4 separate regions of the Homo sapiens genome follow, and regions 2, 3 and 4 are each linked to region 1. Evidence: promoter capture Hi-C in 16 types of primary human blood cells and fetal thymus (Javierre and others, 2016). All regions are on one chromosome and are shown on one strand. Each heading gives the region's core, a stretch centred on a gene start or on the middle of the fragment in contact. The rest is flanking DNA. Distances are from core to core; before and after follow the strand shown. Region 1 holds the start of MOB3B (MOB kinase activator 3B). Region 2 overlaps PLAA (phospholipase A2 activating protein). Region 3 overlaps LINGO2 (leucine rich repeat and Ig domain containing 2). Region 4 overlaps PLAA (phospholipase A2 activating protein).

What was found. The method cuts DNA at HindIII sites, captures the fragments that hold promoters and counts their contacts. A CHiCAGO score of 5 or more calls a contact.
Region 2: a fragment that was not itself captured here is called in contact with the fragment with the promoter of MOB3B in region 1 in 1 of 17 cell types (M0 macrophages); the score reaches 5.3 in M0 macrophages.
Region 3: a fragment that was not itself captured here is called in contact with the fragment with the promoter of MOB3B in region 1 in 3 of 17 cell types (M0 macrophages, M2 macrophages and M1 macrophages); the score reaches 19.0 in M0 macrophages.
Region 4: a contact is called between a fragment that was not itself captured here and the fragment with the promoter of MOB3B in region 1, in 1 of 17 cell types (monocytes). The highest score is 5.6, in monocytes.

What each region holds. Positions count from the first base shown.
Region 1 is chr9:27,528,379-27,531,661 of GRCh38, forward strand. It overlaps MOB3B (MOB kinase activator 3B), which reads right to left and starts at 1,436. Exons shown (of 4, transcript NM_024761.5): 1 at 1,177-1,436. LOC124902107 (dapper homolog 3-like) reads left to right here and starts at 78. Exons shown (of 2, transcript XM_047424279.1): 1 at 78-348; 2 at 642-2,322. The coding sequence starts at 78. The coding sequence ends at 1,630. RefSeq lists silencers at 164-213, 1,184-1,483. The HindIII fragment of the contact is 3,596 bases long and covers 1-2,767 here.
Region 2 is chr9:26,930,054-26,933,470 of GRCh38, forward strand. All of the region lies in intron 2 of PLAA (phospholipase A2 activating protein), which reads right to left. Among named protein-coding and RNA genes, the nearest start is that of PLAA, 15 kb to the right of the region's middle. The HindIII fragment of the contact is 8,628 bases long and covers 1-3,417 here.
Region 3 is chr9:28,069,827-28,072,820 of GRCh38, forward strand. All of the region lies in intron 6 of LINGO2 (leucine rich repeat and Ig domain containing 2), which reads right to left. Among named protein-coding and RNA genes, the nearest start is that of C9orf72, 500 kb to the left of the region's middle. The HindIII fragment of the contact is 4,763 bases long and covers 1-2,994 here.
Region 4 is chr9:26,912,069-26,915,475 of GRCh38, forward strand. PLAA (phospholipase A2 activating protein) reads right to left here. Exons shown (of 14, transcript NM_001031689.3): 11 at 1,811-1,879. Among named protein-coding and RNA genes, the nearest start is that of CAAP1, 21 kb to the left of the region's middle. The HindIII fragment of the contact is 2,819 bases long and covers 490-3,308 here.

The DNA.
Region 1 (3,283 bases), core at 186-2,685:
ACGCGCTTCCACTGTCTCGAAAGCAGCACCTTCTCGGATTTGAGCCTTTGCGGCGCGCCTGGGCTGAGATCTGAGAAATGCGCCCTGGGCCACAGGCAGCAGCGGAGGCGGGGAAGGAACAACTTTCCCTCCGCCCTCTAACCACAAGGGCGGGGTGGGGCGGCCTCGCTGGGGTCGGGCTCCTCCACTTTCCCAGCTGGGATCCCCTGCCGGAGCTGGCGTGGGGGCCGGGGAGGGGGACCAGAGGGGCTTCCTTCTCTCCCCAAGCCCCGCCAGATGTTGGAAAGGCAAACAATAGGGGAAACGCGGAGAAACAAAAGGCCATTCGCCACGATCTCAGTCGGCTGCGTAGAGAGATCTCTGTGGGGAGGGTTAGGGGAGAGGGTCAGGAAAGAGCGCGAGGGGGGGGATCCCGAGAGATTTAGAGTCTCTGGTACTTGCCAGGCACCAGGGGTCGGCGCTTTACCCTCCCAGCAGGGGTCTGAAGGTGGGAAGGGGCAATCAAAGAAAACTTGAAGGGTTTTCACCTTCTTCCCCAGTTCAGGGAAAGGGAGGGGCTGGGATTCCAGATGTTTGACAGTTGTTGGCCCCAAAGTTAAGCGCGATTTGTACGGCCTTTACACGCTCCCCACCTCCGTGAGGCATCGTCAGCCCCGGGGGCGACCTGGCTGACGGTGCGGACTTCCCCTACGCTGCCCCAAGCCGAGACTCCTCCCTCAGGATCAGGACGCCCAAGCGTTGTCCCCCAGCCCAGGCGCACTTTTGTAAAAGTTTGTCTTCCCGCCACCCACAGCCCAACACGCACCCTGCAGGCGTCCGCGGCTGGGGATGGGCTCGGAGTCTTGCACCCCGAAAGAAGGACGATCTTATTGATTTATATCTTTTCAAATCAAGGACAAATCAAGATCCCGGGGTGGAAAGTGGGCGACCCTTGTTCCTGCCGGGAAGTGCACACGAGGAGCCGGCCAGAAACCCAGGCGCCGGCAGGGGTCTGAAGAGGACTCCAGCCCCGGAAGCCCGTGGCCGGCGGGCAGAAGACCGGTCCGCCGCCTCCCGCACCTTCTTGCACCCGCGCCCAGGTGCGCCCCAAACCTCGCCGCCCGCCCGGGCGAGATCGGGAGCGAGCAGCCACCGGGCTGCGCCGCCTCCCCTAGCTTGGAGCGGGTTCTTACTCACCGTGGGGTTTTACCTCCAGCCCAGGGCCCGGTCGGCTCCCTTCGCCGGGTCAGCTGCAGCCAGCGCGAAAGAAAATGGTGAGCTCGGGGCAGGTGGGGCGTCGCTTGCCAATCCACGCAAGGGACTCTGCCGCCGGTGCGCGAGGTCCCGGCGAGCCAACCGGCGGACGGGCGAGCGCCTGGCTCCAGCTGCAGCCGCCGTCGCTCCGGAGCAGCCCCCTCATGCACCCAGCGCGCCGCGCAGCCGGCCGGGGCTCGACTGTCTCGCGGGGACGCCGAGCGGGGACCCCTGGCGGCCGCCTGCGGTATGGCAGCACCGTGGAGAGAAAAGTCGTCTTTGGGATCATCTTCCCTCCGGAAAGAGATGGGACATGACCAGTCTAAGGGGGCTTCCAGCCTTGCAGAAAAGACACTGGGCCAGGGCAGTGAAGAAGGTGTCAGATCAGAAAGGATGATCTCTGGGTCCACAACGGCCACTTCCAAGGCACCTAGAGAGGGGGAAACAGTTTGCCTTCCCCAGGATTTTCTGATTGTTGAAAAATACCATGAACTGCCTGACACAGAGCGGAGCATAAATCATTGGAAAATACTCAGATTCTAGTGGATTTACTAGAACACACTGGGAGTCATGGATGAACCTGGATTTTAAAGCTCAACCCACAGCCCGCCACTCTCTACTTGTGTGGTCTTGGTCTATCTACAACCTTAAAGCCTCAGTATTCTCCTCCGTAAATTGGCGGGGAGCAATATCACCCTTGCAGGGTGATGGTTACGGGTAAACTACATTTGAAACGTTTTTATAGTTTATAGTAACAGAAATCAAATATGAGCTTCCTGCCTTCTGGAGAAAAAGAATTGGATCTTTCACATTTTTCTATTACCCATATGATCACATCTTAATGCATATTGATTGAACTGTACCAAATGACGAAGTACTGCATTTTACCATTCTTACTACACACTTCAAAGAGGTGTGGAAATATATTAAGTAGAAATTAGGATATATAGAGAAAACATCCCTCCTCCAAAAGAGGTTTCTGCAACTAACTACGAAGTGAGAACTTCTAAAATCACTTACATCTTTTGCAATATCATCTCAGATATTGTAAGAAACATTTAATAAATAGTCATGACTTAATGATATCAACCCTGGATTAAATGACTCTAATTCTGTGTCACTTTTGTGTAATGTAAAGATACCGATTGTGAATATAAGACTCAAATATGGGAAAACTGCCAGATACAAAAATACAGCCGCTAAGCAATATTTCTGTTCATCACCGAGGAATCTCATTTCCAAAGTGCCCCAGTTTTTAAGAGGAAGAACACCAGAGTCAGACAGACCCATAGCAGCTGAGTCTAACCTTTCTGAAGCTCTGTTACCTCATCTTATAAAATGAGGATAATATAGGTAGCTGTCATTCAATGAAGGAATGCATACAACATGCTTAGCATAACACCTGTCACATGGTAAGTGCTCCAGGGTCACCACCTATCATTGTTTCCAGCATACAGTTATCACCCCACCGACATGTAGCCCCTCCCTCATGAGCTCAAGAGCCCCCAGCACGTGTTCTACTCACACACGCACAAGCTTCAGTGTCCCTTAAGATGTTATCTCCTGGAAAGTAGGAACAGAAAGAGAATATTTTCAGGTAGTTTGGAACAGAATGAATAACATTCACATTCCTTGCCCAAGTCAGTACAGATTAATTTCCATCATTTCCAACTCATACTTTATACATTTCCCATAAGAGGAAAATCATGCTGGTTTTCAGTAGCATATGAAAAAAAAAAAATTCCAAGAGGATTCTTTTGCCAAGCCACTTCATTACAGCTTCCCCTTAGAGGATACCAAAGAAGCACAGGGATATTGGAAAGGTGTCACCATAGCAACATTGTAATAGACAGATGACAATAGAGTAAAAGCGAAGAAAGCACATTTGCATAGTCATTGACAAACTTGGACCTACAGTCATATTGCTCTGGGCAGCAGTGCTCAGAGTCCAAGGGCTACTCAAAGTAAATTTGGTAAGAGGCTATTTCTATTCATTTTGGCTGAGTCTGACTACCCAGTTCATTGTGCTCATGTGTGTGCTAATTGTAAT
Region 2 (3,417 bases), core at 671-3,170, 600 kb before region 1:
ACATTCAAGGAAGGCACATGCTTTTAAAAGCCAGTGCCTTATTATTATTATTATTTTTTTTTTTTTTTTGAGACAGAGTCTCGCTCTGTCGCCCAGGCTGGAGTGCAGCTGTGTGATCTCGGCTCACCGCAAGCTCTGCCTCCCGGGTTCACGCCATTCTCCTGCCTCAGCCTCCCGAGTGGCTGGGACCACAGGCGCCCGCCACCACGCCCAGCTAATTTTTTTGTATTTTAGTAGAGATGGGGTTTCACCGTGTTAGCTAGGATGGTCTCGATCTCCTGACCTTATGATCCGCCCGCCTTGGCCTCCCAAGTGCTGGGATTACAGGCATGAGCCACTTCGCCCAGCCAACCAGTGCCTTATTAACCATGTTGCCCTTTGACTGCTCCAACAACTACTGAAGCATGTGTGGAGAGAAAGCCCCATTAGCCTGGGTCCCTGAGAAAATCTGATGAACAGAGTCCCTTTATTAATCCATGTTGAACATGTAGGGTTAATGAGAAATACTCATATGTTACATCACTGAGATTTTTTTTTTTTTTTTTGAGATGGGAGTTTTGCTCTTGTTGCCCAGGCTGGAGTGCAATGGTGCAATCTTGGCTCACTGCAACCTCCGCTTCCGAGGCACAAGTGATTCTCCTGCCTCAACCTCCCACGTAGCTTGGATTACATGCATGCGCCACCATGCCCGGCTAATTTTTTTGTATTTAGTAGAGACAGGGTTTCACCATGTCAGTCAGGCTGGTCGTGAACTCCTGACTTCAAGTGATCCACCCACCTCGGCCTCCCAAAGTGCTGGGATTACAGGCATGCACCACCATGCCCAGTCTGAGATCTTAATAGTTGTAACTTGGGTGCTCTTTACATTCTTCCACAAATCAGTATGATATAATTGGATAAAATACCATTTCCCAGTAAAAGAAAAAAAAAAACAGGACTTCTTGGCAAAAGTGCTGGTTTGAGGTCTAGAGCAAGAAGTGTACAAACTGAACCTAGAACATTCTGTAATAAAGCAAGGAAGACTACTGAAGGTCTTATAAAAAGGTGACAGGAGCCAATTTAAAGAGGTTTCCAATGGCCAGATATGGAACAATTTGAGAACTGAAAAAAAAAAAAAAAATTCAGGAAACAACTCCTTCTGCAAACCAGTAAATAAATTGGGAGAAGGGTCAAGGAAAGCATTTATTCTGTCTTTTCTGTATAGAAGTCCCACATGGTAACCAGTTGATGTGGAAAGATCTATACAGAAAAGTCTTGGCGATCAAATGCAGAAATAATATTAGAATTACAGTACAATCATTTTGTAAACCTTAATAAAATATTGAATCTAGGCAATGATTATCAGTAGCTGCTAAAAATTACCATTATGTGAAAGGCTGATGGGAACTTTATAATGAAAGAAAGATACAACACTTGAACCCACTGATCAATCTTAATATCACAAAAAGATATTGTGTGCTTCCTGATGTGATACAATAGAAAATACAGAATACCACCTATACTGTTGCCAAAAACTTGAATCTGAACCTGATAAAGCTACTAGATCTATTTAACAGCTTACAAGAAATATAGGTGACTGAAGAACACATTAAAGGAAACAAGGCTTTAACCAGTAAAACTGAGATTGTGGGAAATTCTACAGCTAAAATAATCTGGTTTTAAGCAACAAGAAAAAAAGAAAGAAACTGACAGATTGAAAGATGTAGGGCTGGGCACGGTGGCTCATGCCTGTAATCCCACCACTTTGGAAGGCCGAGGCAGGCAGATCACCAGAGTTTAGGAGTTATAGACCAGCCTGGACAACATGGATCACCAGAGGTCAGGAGTTTGAGACCAGCCTGGACAACATGGTGAAACCCCATCTCTACTAAAACTACAAAAAACTTAGCTGGGCGTGGTGGTGGGCACCTGTAATCCCAGCTACTTGGGAGGCAGAGGCAGGAGAATCACTTGAATCCAGGAGGCAGAGGTTACAGTGAGCTGAAGATTGCACCACTGCACTCCAGGCTGGGCAAAAGAGTGAGACTCCATCTCCAAAACAAACAAACAAAACAAACAAACAAACAAAACAGATGTGGACCTTATTTGGGTCAGAATTCAAATGAACTGTAAAAAAAGATTTATGAGACAACTGGGTAAATTTGAACATTCACTGGATGTTTTTGTTTTGTTTTGTTTTGTTTTAGGTGTGATAACAATATTGTGGTTATTCTTTTGAGGACGTGAGTGTCCTTATCTTTTAGAAGGGTCAACAAACTAATGCTGGTGAGCCACCTGTATTTGTATACCTAACAAACTAAGAATGTTTTTTACGTATTGAAGTAATTGAGAGAAAAACAATCAAAGGCAATCTTCTAACGTGAAAATTATATGAAATTCAAATTTCAGTGTTCACAAATGAAGATTTATTGAAACACAGACATGCTCATTCATTTATTTACTGTCTATAGCTGCTGTGCACTACAACTGCAGAGTTGAGCAGTTATGAGAGCAACCATATGGCCTGAAAAGCAGAAAATTTATTTACTATCTGATCCTTTACAGAAAAAGTTTGCCAACCCCTGTTTTAGAGCCACATAATGAAGGATGTATTTATAAATGAAACAGCAGAATATCAGAAATTTTAAAATGATGTAGTGGAAGGAGGGGGGAAGATGAAACAAAAATAAGATATCTCTACTTCTGTGTACATTTGATTTCTATATAAAATTTTAAAAATCTGTATCCCTCTGTATTGAAGACTTCTCACACAAACACACATACAGGCACACAAACATTTAAAAAATTCTTTCTGTTTTTGGTCGGGCACAGTGGCTCATGCCTATAAACCCAGAACTTTGGGAGACTGAGGCGGGTGGATCACCTGAGGTCAAGAGTTCGAGACCAGCCTGGCCAACATGGTGAAATCCCATCCCTACTAAAAACACAAAAATGGGCCAGGCACGGTGGCTCAGGCCTGTAATCCCAGCACTTTGGGAAGTCAAGTTGGGCAGATCACAAGGTCAAGAGATCGACACCATCCTGGCCAACATGGTAAAACCCTGTCTCTACTAAAAATACAAAAATTAGCTGGGTGTGGTGGCGCGCGCCTGTAGTCCCAGATACTCAGAAGGCTGAGGCAGGAGAACTGCTTGAACCCGGGAGGCAGACGTTGCAGTGAGCCAAGATCACGCCACTGCACTCCAGCCTGGTGAAAGAGCAAGACTCTGTCTAAAAAAAAAAAAACCATAAAAAAGCTGCGCATGGTGGTGGGCACCTGTAATCCCAGCTACTCTGGAGGCTGAGGCAGGAGAATCGCTTCAACCCGGGAGGCAGTCCTGGCAGAGGCTATAGTGAGCCGAGATCACAAGATCACACCACTGCACTCCAGCCTGGTGACAGACCGAGACTCCGTCTCAAAATAAATTAAAATTAAAA
Region 3 (2,994 bases), core at 66-2,565, 540 kb after region 1:
ATCAGCAGAGATTAACAGTGAGGCCATAAAATAGTTTGCTTAACTGCCAAATAGCCATGTGGAAAGTGAAAGCTCTTCCAGCAATTGCTGGTGAGTGTCGCCATTGCACTGCACAAATATACAACAGAGCAGGGGCAGCTCAAGAAGCCGCTCATAGTGGGCAACAGCAGATGGGCAGTGCAGAGCAGCATGCTCAGGATGCAAAAGCTCATGTCCGTCCACTCTCTTTAATGTCACACAGCGCTCTGACCAGGTTTCGCCAGATCACCTAAACCTGGAGAGATACTCCAGATCCTCTAACTCAATAAGAGTTACCCACTTTAGGTGGTTTAAGGACCCCCATTTCTACCAGCCATGTTATAAGCACAACTGCATATACACATTCCTCACTTCCTCAACCCTAGTCTATTAGTTTACCAGAAAACAAGTCATCATGAAGACAGTTTTTTTCCTGCGGTTGGTTGGAGTTATACCTCTTGGTGGAAGCAAATCAGGCTTCTCTTTCCTCTCTAATCCTTTTGACTATCAAGTTTATCTGACTTTAAAACTTACACATAGCCACATGACCTATACCAAAAACCAAAAAACAAATCCCAACACACATAAACATACATGTGCAAATAATCATTTCAGTTTATTTGATTGTCCTACAGTCCTGCCTTAAATCCCAGGATGGCTTTTCCATCTACATAATGCTAGGGAGTGATACTGATATAATAGAGATAACCTTGTTTCCACTTTAATTTATGTAAAATAGTAAATCATTTATAAACTAGTACTATAAACATTAGAAGTAACAAATTACTGTGGCAAATCTTATAACTACTGTAATTATTATGTACTTGGTGTTATAGGGCCATGGACCAGAATTACTATTATTTTGTTTTGTTCTGTTTGTTTTTTGAGATGGGGTCTTGCTCTGTCACCCAGGCTTGAGTGCAGTGGCATGATCACAGGTTCGCTGTAACTTTGAACTCCTAGGCTCAAACAATCCTCCTGCAACAGCTTCCCAAGTAGCTGGGACTACAGCATGAGTAATCATGTCTGCCTATTTTTTAAAATTCTTATTTTTAGTAGCGACAAGGTCTATGTTGTCCAGGCTGGTATCAAACTCCTGGTCTCAAGTGATTCTCATGCCTTGGCCTCCCAAAGTGCTAGCATTACAGGCCTAAGCCACCATGCCTGGCCCCAGTACTACTGTTTATAAAGTATATTGAGGAAGATGAGATAGTTTACATGTCTGAGTACCAACAGTTATCTTATGGAATCATCTAAGGGTGATGCTGCCTTACATGCACTTATAGCGGAAATTTGGAAGATGTATATTCCTCCCTTTTTCAGGCAAATTCAGCAGTTTACTGCTATTGGTGCCTTGGGGTTGAGGTGGGGCATATATGATCCTTGGGTTGTACATTTCAAGTGTGGTGCTCAGCTCTTAACAACTATTGCCAATCAAGTTTGCAGCCATAGTCACTACACTCATGTAACACGATATGGAGTAGGCTATGTTCTTTCTCATTTCTCTTTATAGTCCTTTAATATAGAAACTGCAACAACACAATCTTTATAGTTTTCTACTGTTGGTACCTTTTCAATCACTCTGCTACTCTTTGTACTTATTTACTCTAGCCTAGCTGCTAGTTAATTACTTTTTATGTGTAAATTTCTCTAGTCCTTACCATTTTGTAAAGTTTTTGTACTTTCCCAACTATTCTTTAGATGGTCTTAAATGTATACATTTATAATCATACGAGATAATTTTTATCAAATTCCTATCTGTGACAAGGGCCCCTAAAAACACTAGAAGGTGGGTATTGATAGGAAAATTAAGGCTCACAGGTATTGTGTACTTTGGCAAAAATTAGCCAATAAATGAGTGATAAAAACTGGATATACATCCAGGTCCATTTGGTTCTAAGAGCTGTCTGTCACAGCTCTTTCTGTGCGTCATTCTCTTCATTCTAACAATAAATATAGATGTAGATATAAAATATTGATATAAAATATATTTCTGAATTTTATTTATTATTGCAGAGTGAAAACTAAAAGAGTCAAAGACACTTCACCAATGAAATGACTATAACAGTTGGAGGCATTCAGTTCCCAATGTATTTGCATCCTATTATACACTATATAAGTCTTTAGACAATGTACATATGATCGTCTGGTTAGAGCAAAGATTTTCTTGAGACAAGATATACCAATCCCATCTTCATCCTCCTTCTACATATCAGTATTTACTTGCACTTTTTTCTATTCACTTAACACAAAGCATGATCTATTCTGGATGAATAATAAAGAATACTGACTCCTATTTTCCTTTTTGTGTGCTTTCTGGGAAAGGGACTCGCACAACATGTGTATGAACTGGCACAGTTGATGTCTTGCACACAACATGGAGAATCTGGAAAAGCTACTTCTCTATTCTGCATTCTGAGACCTGTCCTCTCTTAAGAAAATGCAGCTGCAAGCACACATTTCAACCTTCTTTAGGGGTGTTCCCAAGAGGTGACCATGCCAGGGAATATTAAGCAGAGTTTGCTCTTGTTTGTCTCAGAACATTTTCCATCTTTGAGTTTCAGCAGAAACCAAAACCTTCAAAATCCAAACCATATAGCTTACTTGGTGAAATGACAGCTCAGTACAGAAATGGATCTTGATGAACTATTTCAGCTAGACTAGACCTGTCAGGCCAAAAGGTTTAGTGCAATTTCTCTGGAGTGAAGAATCATATATCCCTTCCCAGTAGGACTTCAAAATATTCCATTTCCTGACTTTAGCTTTTAAACAATAGCCACTCGGTAAATGAAGCAGAAATTCTCCCTCTGATTTTTTTATTGTTATTCTTAGATAGTGAGGTAGGAACACAGAAAATATCTGTTATTTCATCTGTACCTTCTCCAGTGTAAAATACCCCAGAGTCTTGCTCAAACATTATTGCTGAGGGCCCAGGATCTGTTCTGTTTTTCAATATATCTGGGGCTGGGCCACTTA
Region 4 (3,407 bases), core at 649-3,148, 620 kb before region 1:
GATGGAAAAGTACAGGATGCAATGAAAGATAAGAGTAGGCGATCTAGCAAGGACACATGTGGGTGTTCAGAAAAGTTTCACTGAGCTTATCTAATAAATACTGTATTACAAAATTAAATAAAAAAGAAAAGGGAGAAAAACAGCCAATAATTTGTGGTCTAAATGACAAGGCAAAGGGCAATGCATAAGTATGCCAAAAGAAAACAGTGAGTTCAAAGCTCTGGAGGTAGAAAATACTATTACATGCTCAAGAAACTGACACCAGCCAGTATGGCTGGACAGAAGAAAGGCAATGAGGAATGTGGGGCAAGGCAAAAGAAAAATATTCACTGGGAAGCCACTGAAGAGTTTTTTAATCAAGGGAGGTGCATAAACAGAGTAAACAATAAAAAGATCACTGTCTGCAATATGGATCATCGAGAGACCAATTTGGAAGTTATTTCATTATTCCAGGCGAGAGGTGACATTAGCTTGTACTAAGGTATATAAAGCTTCAATATACACACCATGCTGTTAAAAACTAACTTCTGGAAAATGGGAGGGAGCACTGTTAACCTTTGTTAACAAGTACAGCTAACAATTACTAAGCATTAATTTGGTAAAAAGTTATTTACATAAATTTTATAATTTTAAGTTCTTAATTCTAGGAAGTAGATATGACCTCAACTTTGCAAATGAGAAAAACAAAAGCACAGACACATCAAATAAATTGTTCAAGGTCAAGCAGATAAAAAGTAGTAGAGCTGAGATTTGAATTTAGATTCTCACTCCAGAATCCATAATCTTAATTACAGGTACTATGTTATACTTCAGTATTGCTAACCAATGTTACTTTTGCAATTAAAAAATAGCTTACAAAATCACATGCCAAGTGATGGACATGGTAGTGTGCGCATGTAAACCCAACTACTCAGGAGGCTGAGGTGGGAGGATCATGTGAGCCCAGGAGTTTGAGCCCAGCCCAGGCAACAAAACAAGATCCCATCTCAAAAGTAATAAAAAATAAAAACACATGCTAGGTTAGTTATTGAGTGGTAGGTTTATGGGTGTTTATTTTAATGCTGAATAACATATATGTTACTCAATTTCTCTCATATAAATTACAAAGAACATAAAAATTAACTAGAAAAAAATATATGCCAAGATATCTGTCAAACCTGAAAGAGATGAACCACAAATTTAGCTCTGTGTTTTACTGGCAGCCAATACAGAGGAAAACATGCCAGCACATATTCAATGAACAAGTGAGGTATGTCAGACTGTAGACTAGGTAACTAAGGATTAAAAAAAAATTAGTTGCTCAGAAGAACTATAGCTATTCCAGGCATAAATCACAGAAGCAAATTCTTTCCTGAGTCTTCTTAAAGAGAACAATGTATAATCCAGTGAATAACATTCTCAACACATTAAGAATGAAGAGATGAGAATAAACACAGACTTTGTAAGAGTAGTGAGGAAAGCAGATTTACGACAGTAAAACAGTAGTTTCCGATCCTAGATGCATATTAGAATCACATTGGAAGATTATAAAACTACCCTTTGCCAAGCCCCCATCTCAGAGCAGAATTAGACCAAGTAAGCATCTCTGGGGATAAGGCTGAAGTACGTTTGCAAAGCTCCCCAGATGATTCTAAAATGTAGTAATCAGACAATTCTGAGAAAACTCAAAAAGCCAGACAAGTTTGGTCTCGATTTACTATATAAAAAGTTCTCAAGCAAGAAAATGACACAAATTTTCTTACTCTTTTTATTAAAGTTCCAACGAATTTTTAAAATCTAAAAAAAAGAAAAAGAAATAAAAAGTATGTACCTGTAAATGGATCAACTCCGGCCATGGTAGTTCCCATACTTGCAGAACCTGGTACATAACGACCAGCACCTACAATACAATAATACTCCTAGTAAGCAAAGGTGACTGTAAATTATAAAGTTCAAACTGCTCCTTCGCTTATTTCCAGTATTAAGCACACTTCACAATGGCGTCATTATATACATAATAAATATGCCACAAATTTAATACAGAAAAGTGCTTAGAACAGTGCCTGAGCATATCATAAGTGTTAGCTACAAAGTAAACATTACATGCCTTATATATTATAATTGTAGAAGTTTAGTAAACTACAAAAATGTAAGTGGATTGGAGAGAAATAAAAGTTTCCAGAATAAAATGTGAACACTATTCTATTGAAGTAAAGGGGTGGGACTAACTAGCACATAAGACAATTGGAAAAGACTCAGGTAAGAGTTAGAGATACTATGACAACAGCCCAGTCACATTTTATTATAGATAATACTTGTGGCTGTCCTATTGAAAATAGAAAGAAGGAAACTTAAAGAGTAAGTATAGAGAGAGAATCAGCAGGATTTGGAGATATTCAGAATAATGGATCAGCCTTTATGGGAAGAAGAAAAATGAGCTACTGTTCTAGCCTCTCTCAATTTATACTCTAGGAGTTGTTACAACCGGCGCAAAACATACAGAAATGCCAAAGAAAATTAAAAAAGCAAAACCAAAAAAAAAAAAGTAAGATTAATTAAAATAATGAGAAACACAGAATAAATGGATTTGTTGAAATTTAACCATATGCCAGTTAATCATCTTCTATGCATATATTCATTAAAGTATTATATAGATACCATTATAATTCACAATATTTTAGAAGCAGAAGGTTGAATAACTTGCCCAAGGCATTAAGCTGTTAAAAGGTAAAGTACACTCTCACACTTTTCTAAATATGGTTTTCTGACCACCTGAATGAATCACAGATTCAATACACAGATTCCCAGAGTCCACCCATAACCCAGGGTTACTCCAAACTGGCTCCACTTTAGAAACACTTGGGGAACTTTAAAAAATAAGATCGCTGGGCATGGTGGCTCACGCCTGTAAACCCAGCACTTTGGGAGGCTGAGGCGGGTGGATCACCTGAGGTCAGGAGTTCGAGACCAGCCTGACCAACATGGATAAACCCTGTCTCTACTAAAAATACAAAATTAGCTGGGCATGGTGGCACATGCCTGTAATCCTGGCTACTCGGGAGGCTGAGGCAGGAGAATTGCTTGAGCATGGGAGGCAGAGTTTGTGGTGAGCTGAGATCGCACCATTGCACTCCAGCCTGGGCAAGAAGAACAAAACTCTGACTCGAAAAAAAAAAAAATCTAAGATCAAACTACCACCAAGATCATTTATTTAATTAGAATCCTTGGGTGAGAGATCAGAGCATGAATAATTTTAGTTTTAACCTCCTCATTAATCTAGTGAATCAGAATCTCTTGGCCATAGAACCCTGGGATAAGTAATTTAAACAAGCTTCCCAGATCATTCTAATAAACATTAGCAGTTTAAGGACTGCATAAATTAATAAGGAAAAGAAAGAAGAATTAAGACTGACTTTAAGTTGTAGCCA